4 separate regions of the Homo sapiens genome follow, and all the other regions are linked to region 3. The links are contacts of gene promoters, found by promoter capture Hi-C in human tissues and cell types (Jung and others, 2019). All regions are on one chromosome and are shown on one strand. The core of a region is centred on a gene start or on the middle of the fragment in contact, and the rest is flanking DNA. Distances in the headings are between cores, read along the strand shown.

Region 1 (3,037 bases), core at 405-2,904, 76 kb before region 3:
TGCAGGCAAATGATGAACAAGAAAATGGAAGAAGGAATGAAGAAAAACAGAAAGGGAAAATATGTGGGTAAATCTAATCTGTGGTTCCCAAGTCAGGACAATTGTGCCCACTAGGGGACATTTGGCAATGTTTGAAGACATTTTTAATTGTCACAACTTGGGGGTTGGTGCTACTGACATCTAGTGGATAGAGACCAAGGATGCTGCTAAACATCCGTAATGCGTGGAACAGCCTTTTACAACAAATAATTATATGGCCCAAAACATCAACAGGGCCAAAACCGAGATATCTTTATTTAAGTTACTATTGATTATACAGTCAATAGTAATTTCCATGGAATTTAGATTTATGTAGAATTATGGTACATTAAAAAAAAACACAAAAGATGTGAGTACTTGGAGGTAAAATGTTTGAAAATTTTTGCATTGCCTGGGATGCAAATTTTATTTTATACCCTAATAAGTCCAAGATGAATTTTGTAATGTAAGAGAATAACTAACTAACAAGTCAATGAGGGGGGCAGTGTTAATGAAATTATAGGAAAAAAGCTTGATTAATCCAAAGTGCAAGAAGGATAAAAAGAAAAATAGAACAGCTGTTGGACAATAGAAATTGCATAGTAATTGGTTGATACAAACCCAAATATATCATTTATTGCATTAAATACAAACAGACCTAATATTACAAATAAAAGACAAAGACTGTCAGAGTGAATAAACAAAACGAATGCAGCTTAAGACATCTATCTTAAATATAAGGTTTGAAAGATCTACCTTAAGGTTTGAAAGTTGAAGGATGTAAGCAAGTATACTATGCAAATGCTAACAAAAGACTGTGAGTATGAATATGTTAATATCAGACAAAGTAGCCTTTAAAGCAAGAAGCATTATTAAAGATAAAACTGGACATTTCATGATGATGAAATTGTCAATCCACCACAAACAAATAGTAGTTTGAAATGTGATTTATCTAGTAATACGGCATCAAATATATTAAGCAAAAATTGGCAGAACAAAAAAAAAGAAATAAAAATCACAGTGGAAGTTAGAAGGAAGAAAATAATAAAAAGAAAAAAGTGAATGAAGTAAAAACATACATTAAAGTATATATTTAAATCTGTAAGTTACACTATAGATTTAAATGTCAAAAATATAACGTAAGATGCTAGAAGATAACACAGAAGAATATCTTCATAACTTTGGGGCAGGAAATCCTTCTTAAATGGGAAACAAAAATACTAACCATAGGGGAAAAGATGGATAAATTGAACTACATTAAAATAATAATTTCTGTTTATTAAAAAATAAAAGAGAGTGAAAAAGCAAATTACAGAGTGAGAGAAGATATTTGTAATATACATATTTATCAAGGGACTCATATCCAGGGTATATAAGAATGTGTAATAAATAAGAAAAGGGCATAAAATTGAAAAATGAGCAAAAAGATTCAACCAGCCAATTTATAAAAGACAATATCCAAATGTTCAATAAAAGGTAATAAAAAGGTGCCCAACTTGATTAGTTATCAGGAAAATGCAAATTCAAATCACAAAACACACACATAACAGAAGGGCTAAAATGAAAAAGATTTTTTAAGGCAGGGCGCGGTGGCTCATGCCTGTAATCCCAGCACTTTGGGAGGCCGAGGCGGGTGCACCACGAGGTCAGGAGATCGAGACCATCCTGGCTAACACGGTGAAACCCTGTCTCTACTAAAAATACAAAAAATTAGCCAGGTGTGGTGGTGGGTGCCTGTAGTCCCAGCTACTTGGGAGGCTGAGGCAGGAGAATGGCGTGAACCCGGGAGGTGGAGCTTGCAGTGAGCCAAGATCACGCCACTGCACTCCAGCCTGGGCAACAAAGCAAGACTCCATCTAAAAAAAAAAAAAAAGTTTTTAAGAAACCTAAATGTTGCAGAAAAATCAGCATCACTGGAAGTCTCATATTCTGCTGATGAGAATGTATACTGATATAACCAATTTGGAAAACTGTTTGGCAGATCTCCTAAAACTGAACATATGCATATCCTATGACCCAAAAATTCCACTTCTAGGTATATACCCAACAGGAATATCTATATGTATGCCCAGTGCCATATATAAAAGTGGTCATAGAAACATTCATAAGACTCTAACTTGGATACAATCCAAATATCTATCAAAAGTGGAATGGATTAAATATTATATTCATTCAATGGAATATTATATAACAATGAAATTGAATGAACAACATCCACAATATAGACGGACTTTCCAAACATGATGTTGAGCAAAAGAAGCCAGACACAAAATAATACACACTGTATTATTCCATTTATATAAAGTTTAAAATAGGCAAGTCTAATTGATGGTGATAAAATTTAAAATAGCGATGACCTTTTCTTGGATGAGAGAAGAGGAATATTATCTGATGATCTCTTTCTTAATCTGGGTGGTGTCTAGATGGGTATGTATGTAGTAAAAATCCACTAATGATTTATGCACTTGTGTGCAGTATACATAAAGAAAACAGTACTTGCTCCCAAAATCATTTTATAGAAAATAAATTATTTCTGCAATATTTGATTAAATGAAAAAAGTTAGAAACAGCATGTATAATCTGAGGCATATTTGATGAAAAACACATATATATAGATTATATATGAGTAGAGGTAAAGATTAGATATAAATTCAGATGATATATGTATTGATACAGTAAAAAAATCTGGACACGTAGTAAATTATCAACAGTTATTATCTCTAGGTAAGGAATAACTACTATCTCATTACTTCTCTTTGTTCTTTTCTGTTTTTCAAATGTATATTTTTCAAATTTCAAAAATTAAAAAAAAGTGTGGAGAATTTATTTCTGCAATGAGAGGTGTATGAGCTATAAGAAAAAGGAAGTACTTTGTGAGAAGCCAGTGCCCACCCAGGGAGTGATGGCCAGAGGAGTGGAGGAGGCAGAACCAGATAAGGTAGTGAGAGTCGAGTCACACATTCTCCAAACTCCTCATCTGGAACCCTTTTCTACCCCCAGCAGAGCCTGGTAAAATCCT
Region 2 (3,207 bases), core at 638-3,137, 130 kb after region 3:
AATCAAAACAATAGTGATTCTGGAAATCTTACGGCTGATTGTTGTCTCTTAGCCATCTCAGCCGAAGCCTAGAGTAGAGAAGGGCTTATTGCAAAGAAATCTGTGGGCATGTCTTTTGTCTAACAGAGTAATATTGAATAAGATTCAAAGTGACCCACAAGTTTTAAAAAGGATTATATATCCAAAAACATCACCTTAGATTTGCAGGGATAAAAAGAGTACAAATAAAAAGAGGATTTCAGCCAGGCAGGATGGCTCATGCCTATAATCCCAGCACTTTGGGAGGCCAACGTGGGCAGATCACCTGCTGGATCAGGTGATCTAGAGATGAGAGAGAGAGAGAGAGAACAAAGCTTCAGGAACATGGAAGATTATAACAAAAGATTTAACATTTGTGTCATGGGAGTCCTAGGTGAAGAGAAAAAAAAAAGGTGGAGCTAAAAATGTGTTCAAAGAAATAAAGCTGAAAGTGTCCCAAATTTGATGAAAGACATACACACACGGATTCAAGAAGCTGACTAAACCCCAAGCATGATAAACCAAAGAAATCCATACAAGACACACCATAAACAAATTTCTGAAAACTAAAGTCTTGAAAGCAGTTGCAGAGAAATTAACCTTACCAATAATACAGCAACAATTTAAATTGCAGCAGATTTCTCATCAGAAACTGTGAAAGCCAGAAAGAAGTGGCACAATATGTTTAAGTACTGAAAGAAAAAACCGTCAACCCAGAATGCTAAGCAAAGTGAAAAAATCCTTCAGGTATGAAAGTCAAGACATTCTCAAATGAAGGAAAAACTAACATAATTTGTTAACTGAAGAACTATAGTAAGTCCTTAATGTCATCAATAGTTTCTTGGAAACTGCAACTTTAACCAAAATGATGTATAATGAAAGCAAGTTTATCGTAGACTAATTGATATTAACAAGGTAAGTCCATACAGCATACTTCTGGTCACAAAAACAATACCACGCTTCTAAATAAATGCCCAGACACATCTAGTATTAAACATTAAAATAAATGTGAGCTATACATACATTTAAGAAAGATTAATAAAACAGGGAAGTTCATTATTTACTCACCTATTGGTGATGTAATTAAAGTGAGGTCATGCTGGATTAGTATAAGCAGTGAGTGACAGCAGTCATCATGGTGGTGAGTTAAACCAAGGAATAAATCTTTGCAGAGCAAAAATTGTAAGGAGTATCTCCTACCACCATGCAGTTCAAAAACAATAATAAATATGGCAGGCTGGCTGAGTGCTCTTATACCAAATTATTTACTGTTATGCATTTGTATGATTATTATATACTTTACAAATTTTTATTTTACAATAATTTGTATTCACTTATTCTTCATTTCCAACCTGCTTATTCCATTTCAGGGTCCTGGGTGGCTGAATCTTATTCTGGCAGCTCAGGGTGCAAGGCACCCTGGAAAGGATGCCATTCCATCACAGAATGCGTGCACGCACACACACACACACCCCTCACTCATACTTGGATAATTTAGATAATTTAGATACACCAATTAACCTAATGTGCACATCTCTGGGATGTGGGAGGAAATTGGAGTGCCCAGAGAAAACCCACACAGACATGACGAGAATGTGCAAACTCTACACAGACAGTGGCCATGGCTGGGAATCAGTTGTTGTTTTTTTTTCTCATCAACATTATAAAGAAATGACGTTAAACAAAATAACATTATTTGAGGACCTGCTGTACCGTGAAAGAATGGCTAAAGGAAGTTCTCCAAACATAAAGGAAATGATGAAAGAAGAAAACCCGAAACATCAGGAGTGAAGAAAGAACAATGGAAATAATAAAAATATGGGTAAATATGATGGGCTATCCTTCTTCACTTGCATTTTCTAAATTATGTTTGATGGCTAAAACAGAAATTATATAACATGGTCTGATGTGGATTCAATTTATGTAATGAAGATATTTAAGACAATTACATTATGAAAGGAGAAGGGTAAAGGGACCTAAATAGAGGTCAGGCTTCTATCCCTCACTCAAAGTGGCAAAAGTGTCGATACCAGTAGATGGTCATAGATTATGTTATGTATGATGTAATATAGAAAGCAGCCACTAAAAAACCTACACAAAGAGATACACTTAAAAAAAACACTTCACCATAGATAAAAAAAATGGAATTCTAAAAACTGTTTAACCCATAGGAAGAGTAGAGAAATAAAAGAGAAGAATGAAAAGCAGAGGGAATGAAAAGAAAACAATCAAATGGCAGGCTTAAACCCTAACAAATAATTGCATTAACTGCCGGTAGTCTATAAATATACTTTATAACTCTGAGACTGGCAAAACGGAGTGAAAAAAATGACCCAAAATAAGCTCTCTACAAGAAACTCACTTCAAATATGACATAGGTAGACTGAACATAAAAGGATGAAAAAAGATACACCATACAAAGATTAATTAAAAGAAAGCAGAGTTAGCAATTTCAATATCAGATGAAATAGACTGCTGAGCAAAGAAAATCACCAGGGCCAAAAAAAGATATTAAATGGGTCAAATCACAAAGAAGACATAGCAATCATACATGTGTACATACCAAACAACAGATCTTAAAAATCTATGAAACAAAAATTGGTAGAACTGAAAAAAAAAATAGACATCTACTATTAAAGTTGGAGACTTCAACACATCTCTCTCAACACTTGATAGAAATACTAGACAGAAGGGTGGGCATGGTGGCTCACACCTGTAATCCCAACATTTTGGGAGGCCAAGGCGGGTGGATCACCTAAGGTCAGGAGTTCAAGACCAGCCTGGCCAACATGGTGAAACCCTGTCTCTACTAAATATAAAAATTAGCCGGGTGTGGTGGCGGGCGCCTGTAATCCCAGCTACTCGGGAGGCTAAGGCAGGAGAATTGCTTGAACCCGGGAGGCGGAGGCTGCAGTGAGCCGAGATTGTGCCACTGCACTCCACCCTGGACGACAGAGCAAGACTCTGTCTCAAAAAAAAAAAAAAAGAAACACTAGACAGGAAAGCAGCAAGGATGTATAAGAACTTTAAAAAGCCATCAATCAAAAGAATCTAATTAATATTTAGACAATACTTCACATAACAATAACAAGATTCACATTCTTTTGAAATGCTTATGGAACACTCACCAAGACTATATCTTAAGTCACAGAATAAAAGTCAACTAAAAAAAATTTTTTTAAAGAGACA
Region 3 (3,317 bases), core at 588-3,087:
GTATGCTAAAGCAACATAATTAACCCCAATTTATAGATGAGAAAACTGAGGCTGGAAGACGTTAAATGACTTGCCCAGGTCAAGAGTAGCTGGACTTAAATCAACCCAAGTGTCCGTCACTGGATGGATAAAGAAAATGTGGTATGTATACACAATGGAATACTACTCAGCCTTTAAAAAGAAGGAAATCCTACCATTTGTGACAACGTGGATGAACCTGCAGGTTACGTGAAATAAGCCAGGGACAGAAAGACAAATACCAGGTGATCTCACTTACATGTGGAATCTAAAAAAGTTGAAGTCACAGAAGCAGAGAGTAGAATGGTGGATACCCGGGGCTGGGGGTGGGAAGTATTGGGAAGGTGCTGGTCAAAGGGTACAAAATTTCAGTTAGACAGACGGAATAAGTTGTAAAGACCTATTGCACAGCATGGTGACCGTAGTTAATAACATATTGTACACTTGAAAATTGCTAAGAGAGAAAATTTCTCTCTCTCTCTATATATATATACACACATATATTTCAAAACATCATATTGTACCTCATAAATATATAATGTTTCTCAACTTATGATGAGATTATAGCCTAATAAACCTAGCCTAAGTTGAAGATATCAGAAGTTGAAATGCATTTAATACACCTAACCTACCAAACATCATAGCTTAGCCTTACCTACCTTAAACTTGCTCAGAACACTTATACTAGTCTACAGTTGGGCAAAATCATCTAACACAAAGCCCCTTTTATAATGAAGTGTTGAATATCTAATGTAATTTATTGAATACTGTTCTAAAAGTGAACACAGAATGGTTGTATGGGTATTCCAAGTACTGTTTTTACTGACTGTGCATTGTGTTTGCACCATCATAAAGTCAAACACTGTAAGTCAAACCATTGTAAATTGGGGACTGCCTTTATACAATTTTTATTTCTCAATTAAAAATAAATAATAATAAATATATGATAGAATGCTTCTTGAAAAAGAATAGCTGGACCCATCACAACCTCAAATTTTAAATCTGAGGCTCACTAAATCTCCCTAAAGCATGCTGGCTTTGTCTTTCAAAAAAAATGGATCTCTAGAGAGTCAAGGAAAGGAGACAGTTGGAATGTGCTGGATTCTGGGGGTGTGTCTCTAGAGACCATGACCCTCTGAAGCAAACAAAGCTGGGCCCTCCTTCTACATGGTGCTTTTGATATTTCTATTAAAATATAATGAATCTGCTCCTCCTCCAAGTAGGTGACTGTTTCTGACTTCCAATGTGTTTGTGTGTGTTGTTGCCATAATTTCCTGGGAGCACCCAGATGGGATGGAGGCAGCATCTAATACTTTGCCTGGTGCAGTGTGGGTACTTGATGAATGTTTGTTGAATGAATGAGTGATACGAGGGCACTGAAGCAGACAGACCGGGGTCTCAGTCTTGTCTCTGAAACTTGCTGTCCATGTAACAATGGTCAAAGTAGCATAACCTCCTCTCATCTACAAAATGGGAGTGTTAGTGTTGTGGGATTCCCGTGTAGACTTAAGGGAAGCAATGTGTGAAAACTATTTTGCATGGTGCCTGGAAAAGGAAAGGTACTCAAAAATGGCTGCTGTCTTTTTATTATTGTGAAAAAGGCTTCCACCCTGAAGTGGTACTAAAGTAGCCTGGGTGGCCAGATCAGATAAGGCCAGGAGGAGAGAGGTGAAGCTGTGCTTTGGCTGAACACTCTGTTCCTGAGGCAGCCCAGCCCCATGAAAAGCCTGAGTTAAAGGTGAATGAGCTGGATGTGGGGCCAGGCTCCTCCCCTTGGTCCCTTTTCTCCCTAAAATGGCAACCCCAGGCTGAGCCACTGGCTGAGTGGCACCATGCAGCTTCAGGCCTCTCTCTCGTTTCTCCTGATTCTCACTCTCTGCCTAGAGCTTCGATCAGAACTAGCACGAGGTTGGTATGAAATGTGGGATCTCAAAGAATAGACTGGGAATCAGGCTGGGGGGCGGGGTGGTGGGGGAGGTGATGCAGCACAAACAGAGCCCATTTCTTACCTTACCGGATTGAGAGTCAATTCAGTTCAATTCACTTCATCAGACATATGTTGGGCACATAGTTATGTGCCAGGCACTGTCCTAGGTGCTGAGGTTAAAGCAAAGAGCCTGAGACCCTGCCTTTGTGAAATTAAGATGCTAATGGGAGAGAGACATACAATACCTAATACAAATGATAGATGATCAAAGTGCTATAGAAAATGAAATAAGTAAAGCAGGAAAAGGGGCCTTCAATGTCTGGGGTGGGGCTGGTGGCAGGCAAGGAGAGGTTGGGAAAAGGAGATCAGAGCCAGAATTTGAGAGTGAGGGACTTAGCCAAGTTAGATGCACTTGTCAGAAAAGGCTCCTTCCTGGACCACTTTCTCTGTGGAAGCTTGGAATCTGCAAATGGAAGTGGGGAGATGAAGTGCAGTTATAGCTAAGATAATCTGCTGGAAATGGGGATGGTAGGCAGCAGTTTCCAAGATTTTTAAGCAGCCAGTAGGATGCCCTGTATAAAAATGCATATTAGAATACACAAAAGGGTAAGAAAGAAGGTGAAAAATTATCAAAATCTTACCCTCTGGAGATTATCACTGTCAATGTGCCAGTGAACATTCTTGCATGTGCAAGCATAGTTCTCTGCATGTATGTACATGGAGCTATTAATGATAGATTCTTAGACATAAATGGAACTCTAAACCTCCCAATAACCTTATAGATGAGTGGTTCTCGAGTTTGTCCCCTAGTCTGACAGCAATAGCAGCAGCAGTATCAACTGGAAACATGCTAGTTCCCAGTCCCACCTGATCAGAAACTGTGGAGGTGGGTCTCTCTAACAAGCCTTCTAGATGATTCTGACGCATACTCAAGTTTGAAAATGTCTGCCATAAGTAAGAAGAATGTAGTGGTTTACAGTATGAGCATTCCTGGAGTCAGACACACCTGGGTTCTGGTCCAGGCTCCTCTACTTACAAACTCTGTGCCTCAGGAACATCATTTATAGCCTCTCTGAGCATCAGTTTCTTCTTCTATAAAAAAAGATTAACCATCTTTTCTGCTTTATTAATCAAATAGTCTGATGTATGTCAAGCTCTCAGTATAACTTAGCTCTTAATAGATTCTTGTAAAGCACTTAGAACAGCTTCTGTCACACTCAAAACACACACACAGGGTGTCATTATCTACTTTACATAAAAAAGAAGCAAGTCAAGTGATTTTCCTTTGGTTTAATGGAATGGAAGAGCAGAGAAGCAAGACTGAGAAAACTAAGAGCAGATGGGACTCCAGCCCCTACAGAGTCACCTGTAA
Region 4 (3,187 bases), core at 453-2,952, 94 kb before region 3:
GAGGGAGGACGGACCAATAAGAGTAGTAGGAAAGTTCTTGTGTAATAGATACTATCATGAGCTGGTTCTGTGCTTCTGGTCTTGACTCTTTCGTGGGAGATTTCAAGGGTTCATTGGAAACATGAAATGTCGTCTGGCCATTTGCAGTTCAGATACTTCACAAATTAGAGCCCTCTTCTCTGCTACTACAGGCCGCTTTGGCCAGATTTAAAGTCACCCTTTAAAGTCTTCAGTCATGATTCAAGTCTACTGTGTTCCCATAGACTTCTAGGATCACATAGCAAGCTCAATGAGTCGTATTCATAAAACCTTTTCTCTCAACTTGGAATTAGGAGGCAGCATTCCGGCTTTCACGAGCAAAGCTTTTTACCAATAAAATTTCCTTCAAAATCTTCTCTACAATTCCTCCAACTTTGGACCATCTTAGTGCATTAAAGTTTTGAGTCCCCTAACAGTTCTTGGCCATCATCTTTTCTCAAGTCCTGTTATCTATCTGTAATTCCCTCTTAAATTGCTTTAGTGCCTTTTGTCTTAGGATCTTCACTAAAACTTCTTTACATCATCATGTTTCATATGCTTCAAAATAAAATATCAGGACACTTGATGTGTCCAATTTCATAAAAATAATGACTACAACATAAAAGTATAGACATATATTGATTATCTCTAGATGGTGGAATTGCTAATGCTTGTTTATTTCCTCTTTGTATTTTTAATTTTACATATTATATAATCTGAGGATTTATTGTTTTTAATCAGACAGGAGAAATTCATTTTAATAAGAAATAATTTTGCAAAGGAAGGGGTATGTAATATGAGATGAGAAGAAACCTGGGGAAGTCACTGGCTAGCCTGGGAGTTGGTTGGTATGCTACTGGGTACTAGAAAGGGAAAGAATAACATGATAGTCATAAGCACTTTACCCCTGTTGCTTACCCTGTTCTCCTCAATCCATTTTCTACGTCTAGCAGTATTGGGAAAAGACTTGCCTTCTGCCAGAACTTAACCCAAATACACACAGAGAGCACCATGAAGCCCTGGATTCTTCTACTCGTCATGTTCATCTCTGGAGTTGTGATGCTTCTGCCTGTGCTGGGAAGCTTCTGGAACAAAGATCCCTGTGGGTGGTGTGAAAAGGGACGGGGTGCTCTGCCCAGTCCTGGGATGTCTATTGTAGCTGATCCAGGGCCTGCATGTCAAGAATCAGGCTTTAAAGGATCTCTCCTTAAGTAGAGATATTCAAGCAAGATTAGGTTAGATATTCCCAATTCCTTTAAGTTTTCTCTTTCAGCTCTGAAAGCAACACTAGGTATGTGAAAAGGGAACGTATCTTTTGTCTATATTCCATCAGCTAGCAGGAAATAATATTTTCCAATATCAGACCAGTAGAGGAAAAACCAACACAGAGCTTCCCTCCAAGCCCATATTTTCAGAACCTTTGTGCCTCAGTTGGGTGAGCCTTTGATGAATGCCAAAAGGGTAATATTTAACACGTTAATTTAGTTGGAGGGGAAGAGTCTTTTAGAACATGAAAAATGGAAAAGACAAATAAAGGCTCCTTAGTGGGTCAAAGTTTGGGTTCATATGATAAGAAAATGTGGACAACAAAGACACTGAGCAGGAGGGTTGTGGGCCAGGGAAATAAAATTTATGGAGAGACTGACTTCTTAGGTGGCATCATCAGGGAAACAAATAGAAGGGGAGAAAAATGGCTGGGCACGGCGTCTCACACCTGTAATCCCAGCACTTTGGGAGGCTGAGGTGGGCGGATCACGAGGTCAGGGGTTCGAGACTGCCCAACCAACATGGTGAAACCCCGTCTCTATTAAGATACAAAAAATTAGCCAGGCATGGTGGTGTGCTCCTGTAATCCCAGCTACTCAGGAGGCTGAGGCAGGAGAATCGCTTGAACCCGGGAAGTGGAGGTTGCAGTGAGCTGAGATCATGCCGTTGCACTCCAGCCTGGGCGACAGGGCAAGACTCTGTCTCAAAAAAAAAAAAAAGAGAAGGGGAAAAAAAGTAAGTTTCTATTCTCCCTTGGCTCAGTTTCCCACTCTGCAAATTGGCTTTGGAAATTGGAGTTAGAGGATATTGCAGGCCCTGAAATCTAAGGTTACATGAGAATAAATTTGGTGGTTGGTGTCATATATGGTCAGGGTGTCCCAGGTCCTATCTTTAGAGTCTGAAATGCTGTAGGGACATGTAGATGGAGGAACACAGGCCATGCAAGGATGGTCTTGTGACAAGACACTGGTTATAATTTGAGGAAGGGATTTTCTTGGAAGGCAGAGAAATACTTTGTGGCTTGGAGCTCAAGTTTCAGAAGGGATTGTTAAGCTTAGAAAAGGTTTCTTGTCTGAGTTGTGAATAGACGGACCCTGCTAACTTCTTCCATCTCAGTTCTAGATATGATAAGAGAAACTGAGCAGTGCTGGGTACAGCCTCCATATAAGTACTGTGAGAAAAGGTGTACTAAAATAATGACTTGTGTACGTCCAAATCATACATGCTGCTGGACCTACTGTGGAAACATCTGCTTAGACAACGAGTGAGTTGGTTGGGGTGGGAAGGCTAGGGCCTGGGCATGCTTCATCACTGGTCCTTACCGACTATTCAAAAGACCGCAGCCACCCAAATCCTGGTTAAAGAAATAGGCAGCAAAAGACAATGTCCTCCTATCTCCAAACCTAGGCTGCTCCTCACTGCAAAATAAACCAAGACACCAACATGAGGTCCTCTACTTTTTTCTTCACTCTTATTCAGTTCCCTTTGCTTCCCTCAACATATCACCCAACAGTTCATACATCCCTCCTTTATCCAAAGTTCCAATTACTAACCCCTTAGTTGGGCGTCTCCATGGGCGCTCTACTCTCAGCCAGGCCCAAGGAGACCTGGTATCTATCTGTCTGTTCAGTTGGCAAACTTCTTGGGGGAAATTGCTTAAAAGTGGGTAACTTCTGATTTAGCAGAAGAATTGCTGTCCTTTTTCATCTGGGGCCTAGGATGCTATTAATTTTAGAAATGGATTTATCCCAGGATTCTTGACTTTTGACTAACTTTTCTCTTCTAGAGAGCCCCTTAAATCAATGCTAAACCCCTAGATTCTATTGGCCGATCACTACTGTGGGCTGAAGGATGACCATCTGGTCTAAGAAGAGTGCTGCCTACTTCCTTCTTGGGACACCCA

Evidence for each region. The method cuts DNA at HindIII sites, captures the fragments that hold promoters and counts their contacts. A contact is called where the count stands out against the background at its distance.
Region 1: a fragment that was not itself captured here is called in contact with the fragment with the promoter of SPINT3 in region 3 in 4 of the 25 tissues and cell types used here (liver, mesendoderm cells, neural progenitor cells and 1 more).
Region 2: a contact is called between a fragment that was not itself captured here and the fragment with the promoter of SPINT3 in region 3, in 2 of the 25 tissues and cell types used here (liver and mesendoderm cells).
Region 4: a fragment that was not itself captured here is called in contact with the fragment with the promoter of SPINT3 in region 3 in 3 of the 25 tissues and cell types used here (dorsolateral prefrontal cortex, pancreas and spleen).

The regions. Positions count from the first base shown.
Region 1 is chr20:45,589,881-45,592,917 of GRCh38, reverse strand. No RefSeq gene overlaps it. Among named protein-coding and RNA genes, the nearest start is that of WFDC8, 12 kb to the right of the region's middle. The HindIII fragment of the contact is 5,861 bases long and covers 1-3,037 here.
Region 2 is chr20:45,389,025-45,392,231 of GRCh38, reverse strand. The region is part of intron 3 of SYS1-DBNDD2 (SYS1-DBNDD2 readthrough (NMD candidate)); the gene reads right to left. Among named protein-coding and RNA genes, the nearest start is that of TP53TG5, 12 kb to the right of the region's middle. The HindIII fragment of the contact is 5,202 bases long and covers 1-3,207 here.
Region 3 is chr20:45,514,142-45,517,458 of GRCh38, reverse strand. It overlaps SPINT3 (serine peptidase inhibitor, Kunitz type 3), which reads left to right and starts at 1,837. Exons shown (of 2, transcript NM_006652.2): 1 at 1,837-1,926. The coding sequence starts at 1,851. All of the region lies in intron 1 of LOC107987282 (a long non-coding RNA gene), which reads right to left. The HindIII fragment of the contact is 13,872 bases long and covers 1-3,317 here.
Region 4 is chr20:45,608,024-45,611,210 of GRCh38, reverse strand. WFDC9 (WAP four-disulfide core domain 9) reads left to right here. Exons shown (of 5, transcript NM_147198.4): 3 at 972-1,120; 4 at 2,401-2,548; 5 at 3,071-3,187. The coding sequence starts at 1,030. The coding sequence ends at 3,101. Among named protein-coding and RNA genes, the nearest start is that of WFDC10A, 20 kb to the left of the region's middle. The HindIII fragment of the contact is 3,512 bases long and covers 1-3,187 here.